3 separate regions of the Homo sapiens genome follow, and regions 2 and 3 are each linked to region 1. The links are contacts of gene promoters, found by promoter capture Hi-C in blood cells and fetal thymus (Javierre and others, 2016). All regions are on one chromosome and are shown on one strand. Each heading gives the region's core, a stretch centred on a gene start or on the middle of the fragment in contact. The rest is flanking DNA. Distances are from core to core; before and after follow the strand shown.

Region 1 (3,920 bases), core at 819-3,318:
TTGCTTAGTAAAAATCTCAAAGAGGTCAATGATGACATCTCCAGGGATGAAGGACAGGGGAAAAAGACCATTCAAGGGTATAGACAAGTATGGCTCTATTAGTCACTTCAGGTTAGGGTTCAGTAGAGACATAAAAATTTTTATCCTACTGTTATGATACCATTACATGCTCCAGGCTGTAAATTCCTTTTCCCACATCACTTTTCTCCGTTCCCACCTGCTGCCCTGGGTCATCAAACTCCCTCTCTAAATCCTCCAACAGGGTCACAGCTTCCTCGCCGCTTTCTGGATTATGTTGCTGAACCCAGATCTGCAGCTCCTCAGGCAGAATGCTCAGGAACTGCTCCAGTACCAGCAGTTCTAAGATCTGCTCCTTTGTGTGCAACTCTGGCATTAGCCACTGATAGCAAAGTTCCTGGAGTCGGCTCAGAGCCTCCCGGGGCCCAGGTGTCTCCTGGTAGCAAAATTTTCTGAATTGCTGACGAAACAATTCTTGGCAGGATTGAGTACTCCCATTCTGCTTAAATTTCTCATCCCAGGAAAAGTTATCTTCTACTTTCACTAGTATTAGTTCTTGTTCCGGAGGATCCTGAGGTATCAGGGTTGAAATCACTCCAGATTCCACAGCCATTCTTGGCTGAAACAGCTTAGCAAAAAGCTCAGTACAACTGGTTCTGTGCTTGCGAAGGAGTGTGAGTAATCTCTTCTTTCCTGAAGGATATAAAAGCAGTTAACTTACAGCAATCAATAAAATCTCTAAGTACTTGTAATAAGAAAGATGAGTAACTTTAGTAATATATTGAAAGGGAGTAGATTTGGGGCTATCACTAAATAAAACAATAATGTGATGATAAACTAAAAATCATTAACCTCAATTAGTGTCTCCCATTATGAAGAATTCCTACCACTAATGTTAGAAAAAACTATTTTAGAAGCCTAAGAATGTGAATGCAACATTAACATCAATCACATAGTGAGAAAATTTCCTTTCCAATTCTTTCAATTCTGATTGTATCAAGGAGAAAAGTCTATCTTTAACATGTATGTATTAATAAAACTTGTAGAACTCTCTTTTAAATAAAATACAGGCTTCAGAATCAGACTTCCAAGAGTAAAAATATTTAGGCAGAATTTAGTAATACTGATTTTAAACATTTATTTTTACTTACTTTCTATCTAAAGCAAGTAATGTTGATTTTCATTTAAGGCAGTAATAACGTTTTTTTAAAAGTTCACATTAAACATGAGTTGATGTAAATATTGGATATTTGTCATTTGATCGCATTTGGTGTTTACCGAATTACTTCAACAAACACTGAGGCACTTACTGAGCATTAAGATTTTTGCTTATGAATAAACGAGTCTACAGAGGAATTGACCAAGAACCAAGACGTATCTGTAAAATGCTTACCATGTGTTCAAAAACATGATAGGTATCACATACACAAAAGCAGCAAAGAGATCCGTATCAGTTCTGAAAAAGCTTAGAATATCCCAAGACTAAAAATGTTCAAAAGCAAAATATGGTAACAAATAGGTATTAAATGTTGTGACACAGACCAAACTTGACCTGCTTTTAGGATGGCGAGATATCGATAGGAATGTATGCCCTTAGTTTGTCAGGACAGATGAGTAAAATTCATTCCTCACACTACGGTTAACGTTAAGAGATGAATTAAAATATTTAGCCTACAAATTTAAGGTTTAACCAGTCCGGCCGCACTAACTAACTAACTAACTAGCCCTTCTATTTTTATATCCTTGGTTAAACCGCAGCATTTACGAAGTCACGGGGTCAGCGGAACTGCGTTTTCCTTTGGAAAGCAGGAGTTTGAGTGCTGGCCTCCTCTGAGTTCCCCAGTCGCTTGGAGACGCCGCGCGGGCCAAAGGGCCGCGACCTGGGGATGGGCAGGCCGAGGAGCGGAGCTCCTCCACTGTCCGGCGCGCGCTCCCAACCCCACCTCCCTCTTCCTAGGGGCCCACGTCCCTCACCGCGAAGCCCAGGAGCGGCCAGGAAATGAGCCACCCACCCCGAGCTGCAAGCCACAAAGACCGGAAGTGCGCGTACGCAGTGTTCCGCTCTCGCGCCCTTCGGGTCCTCCGCCGCCCCGCCCCTTGCTCTGAGGTAGCCAATCAGAGCCGCGGGCTCTACAGTTTCCACCGCCTTCTCCCGGTAGCCGCTAGCCCGGCGGAATCTCCAAGGCCAGGGGAGGGTGCGCTAGGAGTCAGGGGTCCTTGTGAGCGGCGGCACCTGGAGGGTCCCGCATCTCGCCTGGGCCGTTCCCACCCTGGCTTTCTCCTGGCACCACCCATCATTGTTGGTCTCAAGTAATTCCCGAATCTCACTCCCAGTTTTCCATTAAAATATTCAGATTTTCGGCCGGGCGCGGTGGCCGAGGCGGGCGGATCACGAGGTCAGGAGATAGAGACCATCCTGGCTAACACGGTGAAACCCCGTCTCTACTAAAAATACAAAAATTTAGCTGGGCATGTTGGCGGGCGCCTGTAGTTCCAGCTACTCGGGAGGCTGAGGCAGGAGAATGGCGTGAACCCGGGAGGCGGAGCTTGCAGTGAACTGAGATGTGCTGCACTCCAGCCTGGGCGACAGAGCGAGACTCTGTCTCAAAAAAAAAAAAAAAAAAAAAACCTCAGATTTTCCTGTGATTCCAGTTCTTTTCCGACAAAAGTAAATGTAAGGATGAATAGGCTGAACAAAAACTAACAGTCACTTATATTGCTTTTGCCTATGAGTATCACTGGAGCCTTACAACAGTTCTGTGCTGTGGCTATATAATCCCAAATTTACAGCCGTAGACATCGCCCAAAGTCAGGCAACTTGTGACCAGGGACGTCCACGTCCCCATAGTTCAAGGAGACTGGTATCGTAGACTCCTGGAGCCTATCTTAGGGTCTTCCCGTTCTTCAGTGGAAGCTTGCTGGTATTGTCTCACTGTTTAAATTTTTCTTTGGCTATTTAGTCGGTGAAAAATGATGCCTCATGTTTCAACTTTGTGAGCTTAAGATAGTCCCCCTTCATGTTTACTGACCATTTATGGTTCTTCAGAGATGGCTTTTCCCATTTAAAAAATTAAGGGAGTAAGATTTTTCTTTTTTATTTGTGAGAATTTTTTGCTTATTAAGGATAGCAACTCGTTTGTTGCAAATCGTTTCCCATTTATTTGTATTTATTTTTAAAACGTTACATTTTACATGTTTAAATGTTACATATTTTTAAAATGTTATATTAAAAAAGTACACAGGATAATAACAAAGCGATACATACATACATAGAAACAAATTCTCCTTTGTGAGCCAAGACTTAAAACACATATTTGAGAAAAATGTTCGTTAGCATTCAAAGCTATTAGTGACTCACTAAATAATTTTATCATTGTGAAATGACTACAGCAATTTTACAAAGCAAAAAACCAAATAATATTAATTTGTTTATAAATTATCAATTGCTTCATAATGAACCACTTCAAGACTTAGTGACTAAAAACAGCAGATGTTTTATTGCTCACAGTTCTGTTGCCAGGAATTCAGGAAGGGCTTAGCGGAGATGGCTAGTCTGCTTTATGATGTGTCAGCTATCTTCACTTAACTGGGGTGGAAGGTCCAAGATGGCTTCACTCAAATTGCTGAAGTCTTGGTGTTGCCTCTTGGTTGAAGTTACTTGATTCTTCTCCACAAGGCCTCTCTCCATTCAGGAGTTTAGCCTAAGCTTTCTTACATGGTGACTGGCTTCCAAGAGAGTTAAGGAGGAGGAAAGATGCTAATTCTCTTAAAGCCTGAGTCTGGAACTGGCATTATATTTTTCTGCAGTATTCCATGACAGAAGGACTAGAATGGTGGAAAAGGGAAATAGACATTAAGCAGCTTGATCATAGGAGGAAATTTTGGCAGTTATCTTTGCATCC
Region 2 (3,920 bases), core at 498-2,997, 800 kb before region 1:
CTTGCACCCTCTGAAGCAATGGCCCAAGCTGTGCCCTGGCCCCTTTTAGCCATGGCTAGAGCTGGAGCAGCTGGGAGGTAGGGCACCAAATCCTGAGATTGCACAAAGCAACAAGGCCCTGGGCCTGGCTCAGGAAACCATTTTTTCCTCCTCGGCCTCTGGGCCTGTGATGGGAGAGGCTGCCATGAAGGTCTCTGACATGCCCTGGAGACGTTTTCCCCATTGTCTTGAGGATGAACATTTGGCCCCTTGTTACTTGCAAATTTCTGCAGCCCACCTGAATTTCTCTTCAGAAAATGGGTTTTCTTTTCTGTTGTATCCTCAGGCTGCAAATTTTTCGAACTTTTATGTTCCATTTCTCTTTTAAACATAAGTTCCAATTCCAAACCGTATCTTTGTGAATGCCTGGAACTGAATGCTTTTAAGAGGGCCCAAGTCACTTTAATGCTTTGCTGGCTAGAAATTTCTTCCACCAGATACCCTAAATCATCTCTTTTAACCTCAAAGTTCCACAGATCTCTAGGGCAGGGGCAAAATGCTGCCCGTCTTGTTGCTAAAGCATAGTGAGAGTCACCTTTATTCCAGTTTCCAACAGGTTCCTCATCTCCATCTGAGACCACTTCAGCCTGGACTTCATTGTCTACTTCACTATCAGCATTTTGGTCAAAGCCATTCAACAAGTCTCTAGGGAGTTCCAAACTTTCCCACATCTTTCTGTTTTCTTCAGAGCCCTCCAAACTGTTCCAACCTCTGCCTGTTACCCAGTTCCAAAGTGGCTTCCACATTTTCAGGTATCTTTACAGCAGTGCCCCACTACTTGGTACCAATTTACTGTATTAGTCTGTTCTCATGCTGTTACGAAGAAATACCTGAAACTGGGTAATTTATAAAGGAAAGAGATTTAATTGACTCACAGTTCTTCAGGGCTGGGGAGACCTCAGGAAACTTACAATCATGACAGAAGAGGAAGCAAACACGTCCTTATTCACATGGTGGCAGGAAGAAGTACAGAGTGAAGTGGGGGAAAGCTCTTTATGAAACCATCAGATCTCATGAGAACTCACTTACTAACATGAGAAAAACATGGAGGTAGCTGCCCCCATGATCAGTTATCTCCCACCTGGTTCCTCCTATGACATGGGATTATGGGAACCACAATTCAAGATTTGGGTGGGGACACAGCCAAACTGTATCACAAGTATATGTTATTTATGATTGTTTCTGTGTTGGTGTGATATATTCATGGGGAGAAGAAATAAGGAAAAAAAAAGTAACATTTTAGTGATGTGACCTATCATCTGCCAATTTGTATGGAACTTGCAAACTCCTGATTGAACAGGAAACGTTAATTTTAGTCTGTACTTAGCGTGGTCCCTGGTACATGGCAAACATTAAAATAATAAATGCTATTTAAATTGAATGGACGGTTTGGAAAACCGGTGTTTTTGGAAAGAACCCCATGAGCAACAGAAACATAGGAATTAACTAAGTCAGACCTGTCACTTAGTCTTACATTCTTTGTTGCCAACAGTGGCATTTCTTTGTGGAATTATGACATGGTTTGTTTTCCCTTTCTGTTAACTGTTTCTCTTTTAATAACAATTTATGGCTCTGTTATTTTTAAAAATATCAAAATTCATTTGGAAATTTTTTGTGTGATTTTCTTGGATTGCTTGCTGTGATTACCGCCATTAATTATTTGCTGTATGTATAGGGACACATAATTTTAAATGGAAGTAAATTTCTTTCCCTGAAAATTTAGGGAAGGGCATAAGTTGTGATGATTGCTGGGTATTTTTCATATTTTTGCTTGGTCCTACAAAGATAAAAGTGAAAATAGTATCTTGGTATTTGGACCCCATGCTCAATCACCTCATATGGAATTTGTCCTTTGGAAAACACTGGTAAATATATTTTTAAATCTTGTAAATTTTTATTTTAGTGTATATTGTAAAAGCAATTCTGAATTCTTTGAGAGATTGATATAACCCATGAATTTAAAAAACATTCTAGGGCCAGGCACAGTGGCTCACACCAGTAATCCCAGCACTTTGGGAGGCCTAGGTGGGAGGGTCACTTGAGCTCAGGAGTTCAAGACCAGCCTGGGCAACAAAGTAAGACCTTATCTCTACAAAAAATTTAAAAAATTAGCCAGGCATGGTGGCGTGTGCCTGTGGTTCCAGCTACTTGGAAGCTGAGGCAGGAGGATTGCTAGAGCCCAGGAGGTCGAGGCTGCAGTGAGCCTTTAGTCTGGGAGACAGAACTTGTCTCAAACAAAAAAAACAAAAACATTTTTTTTGTTTTTGTGGTAATAAATATTATTTACCATCTTCATTTTTTCCGTGTACAGTCCAGTAGTGTTAAGTACATTGTTGTGTAGCCAGTTTCCAGAACTGTTCATTTTGCAAAACTGAGACTCTGTACCCATGAATAATTTCCTATTCTCCTCCCATTCCCACAGCCTTTGGCAACTATCCTTCTACTCTTTTTTTCTATGAATTTGAGTACCTCCAATAAGTAGAATCATACAGTGGTTTGTCTTTTTTCATGACTCGATTATTTCACCTGGCATGATGTCCTGGAGATTCATCCATGTTGTAACATGCGTCAACATTTCCTTCTTCTATAAGGCTGAATAATACTTTATTGAATATATAATTCACATTTTGTTTATTCATTGATCAGTGGGTTAGGTTGCTCTTAACTCTTGGCTATTGTGAATAATGCTGCTAACATTGTAAAATATTTTTATTTCAGTTGCTACTTTTTGTTTTGCATTGTTTTATCTTTTTCTTCTTTTCAGTTGCTACTTTTGAGTCTCAAAGATTAACATGCCCTTTTAATTATGACAGGAAGCATGGTCTAGTTGTTAAGAGGGATTTGCTTGGCTGTTGGACTTTTTGGATTCCAATCCTGGCTTATCTCTTCCTCATTATTTCCCTGAGGGCAAATAATGTTTTTGGCTTTGTTTGTTCAGCTGCCAAATAGAGACATATTGTTAGGATTGAGATAATGTATGTAAAGTGCTTGGAATAGTGTGTAGCACATAGTAAAAGTGCAGTGAAAGGATTGTTTGTTCAGGTACCCATTCAAAAGTGATGCAGGCAATCTCCCAATTAGATAATACAAATTTGAGTTTCTAAACTCATTTGACACTGGGAAGGCAAAAATCTGGATTGAACAATACCAATCTATTTTGTGGGTGGGATTGAGAGGGCAAGGATGGGTACAAAAGAGACAGGACTGAATGTTAGGATAGGGTCCCGATATCTTAACCAGTTGTACACTGTGGTTTATCTAACCAGACAAGGAGCCTGAAAACCAGAAGCTGGTCTCTGTTATAGCCATCTCTTCTTATTTTTATTCCATGCCAGCAACTTGCAAAATCATGAAAAGTGGTAGACAGCAATTTAAACAGACAAACCAGGTTATACAGTGGCATGGCACAGGTTTGTAAAGTTTGATCAGTTGTGACTTAGTATATGAGAAGGTTGGGCTTCTGGTTGCTCCTCGAGAATGATGTGAACTCAGAGGTGACTTTTTAATATGTCAAATGCTTAAATTTGTAAATTGAATACTTAACATCTAGAGGACCACATGTAGCCTGATCAAGATTTTTGTCTTAAATCCAATAAGATAGCCCACATCAATAGGATACTGCATAATTGGTCCTGACCATAAGTTTCCTACACCACTGTACTATGGATGCCACAAGGTATGATGCTTCTGAATATAACTGTACTACATTGAGTGATTCAAATTTAATTCTAGTAAAATATAAGAATAGTATAAAATATTATGTTCAACACTGTTTTCCTTATGTATAATCTTATTTGAGTCATATTCAGTAGTAGTATGCTATTTAACATTGTAACCAGTAAAAATGTACTGTGGCCCACAACTGTTGAAATCTTGTCTAT
Region 3 (3,920 bases), core at 997-3,496, 720 kb before region 1:
ATGGTTATTACTTGTCTATCCCCAGATCACAAAATATTCTCCTAGGTTTTCTTCTAAAAGCTTGAGTGTTTAAGTGTTTATATTTAGATTTATGAGCCATCTCAAATTAATTTTTGTATGGTATGAGTTATGGGAGCCCAGAACCATTATTTAAAAACCTACTTTTCCCTGTTAAATTTCTCTAGCACCTTTGTCAATAATCAACTGACCATTTAACTGCAAATTTATTTCTGGATATCCTATTCTGTTGTCTTGATCTATTTGCCTATCCTTATGTATACACCACAATGTCTTTTTTTTTTTTTTTTTGAGACAGAGTCTCACTCTGTCGCCCAGGCTGGAGTGCAGTGGTGCGATCTCTGCTCACTGCAAGCTCTGCCTCCCAGGTTCACGCCATTCTCCTGCCTCAGTCTCCCAAGTAGCTGGGACTACAGGTGCCTGCCACTGCGCCCGGCTAATTTTTTGTATTTTTAGTAGAGATGGGGTTTCACCGTGGTCTCGATCTCCTAACCGCGTGATCTGCCCGCCTCGGTCTCCCAAAGTGCCGGGATTACAGGCGTGAGCCACTACAATGTCTTAATTACTATAACTTCGTGGTAAACCTTGAAGTCAGGTAATATAAGTTCCCAGCTGACTTTATTCTACTTTTTCAAGATTGTTTTAGATATTCTAGATCTTTTGCACATCCATATGTATTTTAGAATCATCTTGTCAATTTCTAAGAAAAACCTATCGACATTGAGTTGAAACTGTAGATCAGTATGGGGAGGCATCTTAACAATATTGAATCTTTCAATCTATGAAAACGATATATTTCCATTTATTTAGGTTTTGTTTAACTTATCTCAATGATATTTTGTTATTTTCAATGTACAGGGCTTGCATATCTTTTATTGAATGTATTCAAACTTTTTCTTATGTTTTTGATGGTATGATAAATGAGATTATTTTTTAAATTCCATTTTTCCAGTTTTTTCTTTCTTTTTTTGTAGATATGTCTTAGAAGTCAACACTTTTCCAGTGTTTTCTACTAGTATATAGACATACTATTGATTTTTGTACATTGAGTTAGTTAAACTGATGTATTAGTTGGTAGGAGGAACCTAGTTTAACTGCTGTATTTGATCTAGAAGGTTTTTGTTGTTGATTCTTTAGGATTTTCTATGCCAATGATCATACCATTTTCAAATAGGAATGTATTTATTGCTTCTTTTTCAACTCCTTCCTTCCTTCCTTTCTCTCTCTCTTTCTCTCTCTCTCTTCCTCCCTCCCTCTCTCTCTTTCTTCCGTTCTTTCTTTCTCTCTTTCTTTTTTTTCTTTTTCCCTCCCTCCTTTCTCTCTTTCTTTCTCTTTTTTTCTTTCTTTCTTTCTTTCTTTCTTTCTTTCTTTCTTTCTTTCTTTCTTTCTCTTTCTTTCTTTCTTCCCTCCCTCCCTTCCTTCCTTTTTCTTTTTCCCTCCCTCCCTTCCTTTGTTCTTTTCCTGCCTTCCTGCCTTCCTGCTTCTTTCTTTTTTTTTCTTTCCTTCTTTCTTTCTTTCTTTCTTTCTTTCTTTCTTTCTTTCTTTCTCTCTTTCTTTCTTTCTTCCCTCCCTCCCTTCCTTCCTTTTTCTTTTTCCCTCCCTCCCTTCCTTTGTTCTTTTCCTGCCTTCCTGCCTTCCTGCTTCTTTCTTTTTTTTTTTTCTTTCTTTCTTTCTTTCTTTCTTTCTTTCTTTCTTTCTTTCTTTCTTTCTTTCTCTTTCTTTCTTTTTCTTTTTCCTTATTGAACTATCCAGGATGTCCAGTACAGTAGAAGCTGTAAGAATAGAGAACTTTGCCTTCTTTCCAATATTAGGGGAAAATGTTTAGCAATCAGTAGGAATTATCAGTTGTAGTTTTTTCTTTGTAGGTGCCTGCAATTAAATTAAACAAGTTGTCTTTTTTTCCTAGTTTGCTGAGAGTGAAAAACATTTTTTCATCATTAATGGGTATTGAATTTTGTCCAATGCCTTTTCTGTATCAATTGATATATTATTTTTTCCCTTTATTACGTTAATATAATGGGCTACAGATGTTGGAATTATCTGACAAAGACTTAAAGCAGGTATTATACAAATGTTCCAAGAGGCAGTCATGCACATTCTTGACATGAGTGGAAAGATAGAAAGCATCAGCAAAGAAACAGAAGATATAAAAGAGAAATAAAAGGACATTTCAGACCAGAAAAATGAAATAACTGAAGTAAAAAACTTGTTGGATGGACTTAAGAGTGGAATAGAGATGACTGAGGAGTTGGCAAACTTGAGACAGGATCAATAGAAATCATCCAGTCTGAACAACAAAGAGAATAAAGTGAAAAACAATGAACATACTTTTAGGGACCTGTACGAAAATATCAAAAGGTGAATATTCATGCCATCGGAGTAACAGAAATGGAGGAGAAAGATTGTTTGTTCTCAAAAAATATTTGGAGAGGCTGGGTGCAGTGGTTCATGCCTGTAATCCCAGCATTTTGGGAGGCCAAGGTGAGTGGTCACCTGAGTTCAGGAGTTCAAGACAAGCCTGGCCAAAATGGTGAAACCCCATCTCTACTAAAAATACAAAATTATCCTGGTGTGGTAGTGCATGCCTGTAGTCCCAGCTACTTGGGAGGGTGACGCAGAATTGCTTGAACCTAGGAGGTGGAGTTTGCAGTGAGCCAAGATTGCACCAGTGCACTCCAGCCTGGGCAACAGAGCAAGACTCCATCTCAAAATAATAATATAATAATAATAATTTCCAGAGTTTGGTGAAAGACATAAACCTACAGATTCAAGAACCTTAGCGAGCCCCAAAAGGATAAACAAAAGAAATTTGTGCCCAGAAACATCATAATCCAATTACTAGAAACTACAGACAAAGAACAATTTTGAAGGCAGCCCGAGGAAGCCTATGCATTACCTGTAAGGGGGATGAAGATTTAAATGACTGTGTTTGTTATCAGAAACCATGGAGGCAAGAAAGAAGTGACACATTTTTAAAGTGCTAAAAGAAAAGAACTGTCAATGCAGAATTCTATGTCCAGTGAAAATATATTTTGTGAATGAAGATGACATGGAGACATTCTCAGATAAAAGAAAATTATTTTTGGTGAATGTGTCATGTGCAGTTAGTTGCCAGTAAACCTGTTCAATTAATAAAGGAAGTTTTTCAGATAGAAAGGAAATGATACCAGAAAGAAACTTGGAATATCAGGAATGAAGGAAGAGTAACAGATGATAAAATTCTGGTAATATAATAACTATTCTTCTCCTGAGATGTTTAAAGTATATTTGACAGTTGAAAGCACAAATTATAGCATTACCTTATAAGATTTTAATGCATATAGATGTAATATGTAGATACCATAACATAAAAGGGGAGGGTGAATGAGTTAACATAGTGGTAAGATTTCCACCTTCCAGTTGGAGTGGTAAAATATTGATTCCAGATAGATTGTGACACTGTTCTGTATACTGTAATCCCTAGAGAAGGCATTTAAAAACCTATACCAAGAGATATAGTCAAAATCACAGTAGAAAATTAAAATGAAATTAAATAAAATTAAATAAATTATATATGTATAATTTATAAATAATAAAATAAAATGAAAATGAAAATGAAATACTAAAAAATGCTCACTTAACTAAAAACAATGCTGGAAAGGGAAAATTAGGGATAAAAAGCAAAAGGAACAGACAGGAAACAAATAATAACATGATATACCTAATTCCTGTTATTGGTAAATTTTGTTTTGTATCTTTTCTTCTTGATTAGTCTTGTGTGAAACTTCAATTTTATTAATCTTTTAAAAGACTTGCTTTTTGCTTTGTTAATTTTCTCTATTGTTTTTCTATTTTCAATTTTATCAATTTCTACATGGATCTTTATTCTTTCTTTCCTTCTACTTACTTTGTGTTTAGTTTGC

Evidence for each region. The method cuts DNA at HindIII sites, captures the fragments that hold promoters and counts their contacts. A CHiCAGO score of 5 or more calls a contact.
Region 2: a contact is called between a fragment that was not itself captured here and the fragment with the promoter of ZNF397 in region 1, in 3 of 17 cell types (total B cells, erythroblasts and naive CD4 T cells). The highest score is 7.3, in total B cells.
Region 3: a contact is called between a fragment that was not itself captured here and the fragment with the promoter of ZNF397 in region 1, in 6 of 17 cell types (naive CD8 T cells, non-activated CD4 T cells, naive CD4 T cells and 3 more). The highest score is 9.5, in naive CD8 T cells.

What each region holds. Positions count from the first base shown.
Region 1 is chr18:35,239,182-35,243,101 of GRCh38, reverse strand. It overlaps ZNF397 (zinc finger protein 397), which reads right to left and starts at 2,068. Exons shown (of 4, transcript NM_001135178.3): 1 at 1,993-2,068; 2 at 218-711. The coding sequence starts at 631. RefSeq lists a silencer at 1,887-2,016 and enhancers at 1,806-2,331, 2,277-2,386. The HindIII fragment of the contact is 1,449 bases long and covers 1,486-2,934 here.
Region 2 is chr18:36,034,467-36,038,386 of GRCh38, reverse strand. The region is part of intron 1 of RPRD1A (regulation of nuclear pre-mRNA domain containing 1A); the gene reads left to right. Among named protein-coding and RNA genes, the nearest start is that of RPRD1A, 31 kb to the left of the region's middle. The HindIII fragment of the contact is 5,642 bases long and covers 1-3,920 here.
Region 3 is chr18:35,955,295-35,959,214 of GRCh38, reverse strand. All of the region lies in intron 2 of LOC105372066 (a long non-coding RNA gene), which reads left to right. Among named protein-coding and RNA genes, the nearest start is that of RMP24, 15 kb to the left of the region's middle. The HindIII fragment of the contact is 4,367 bases long and covers 63-3,920 here.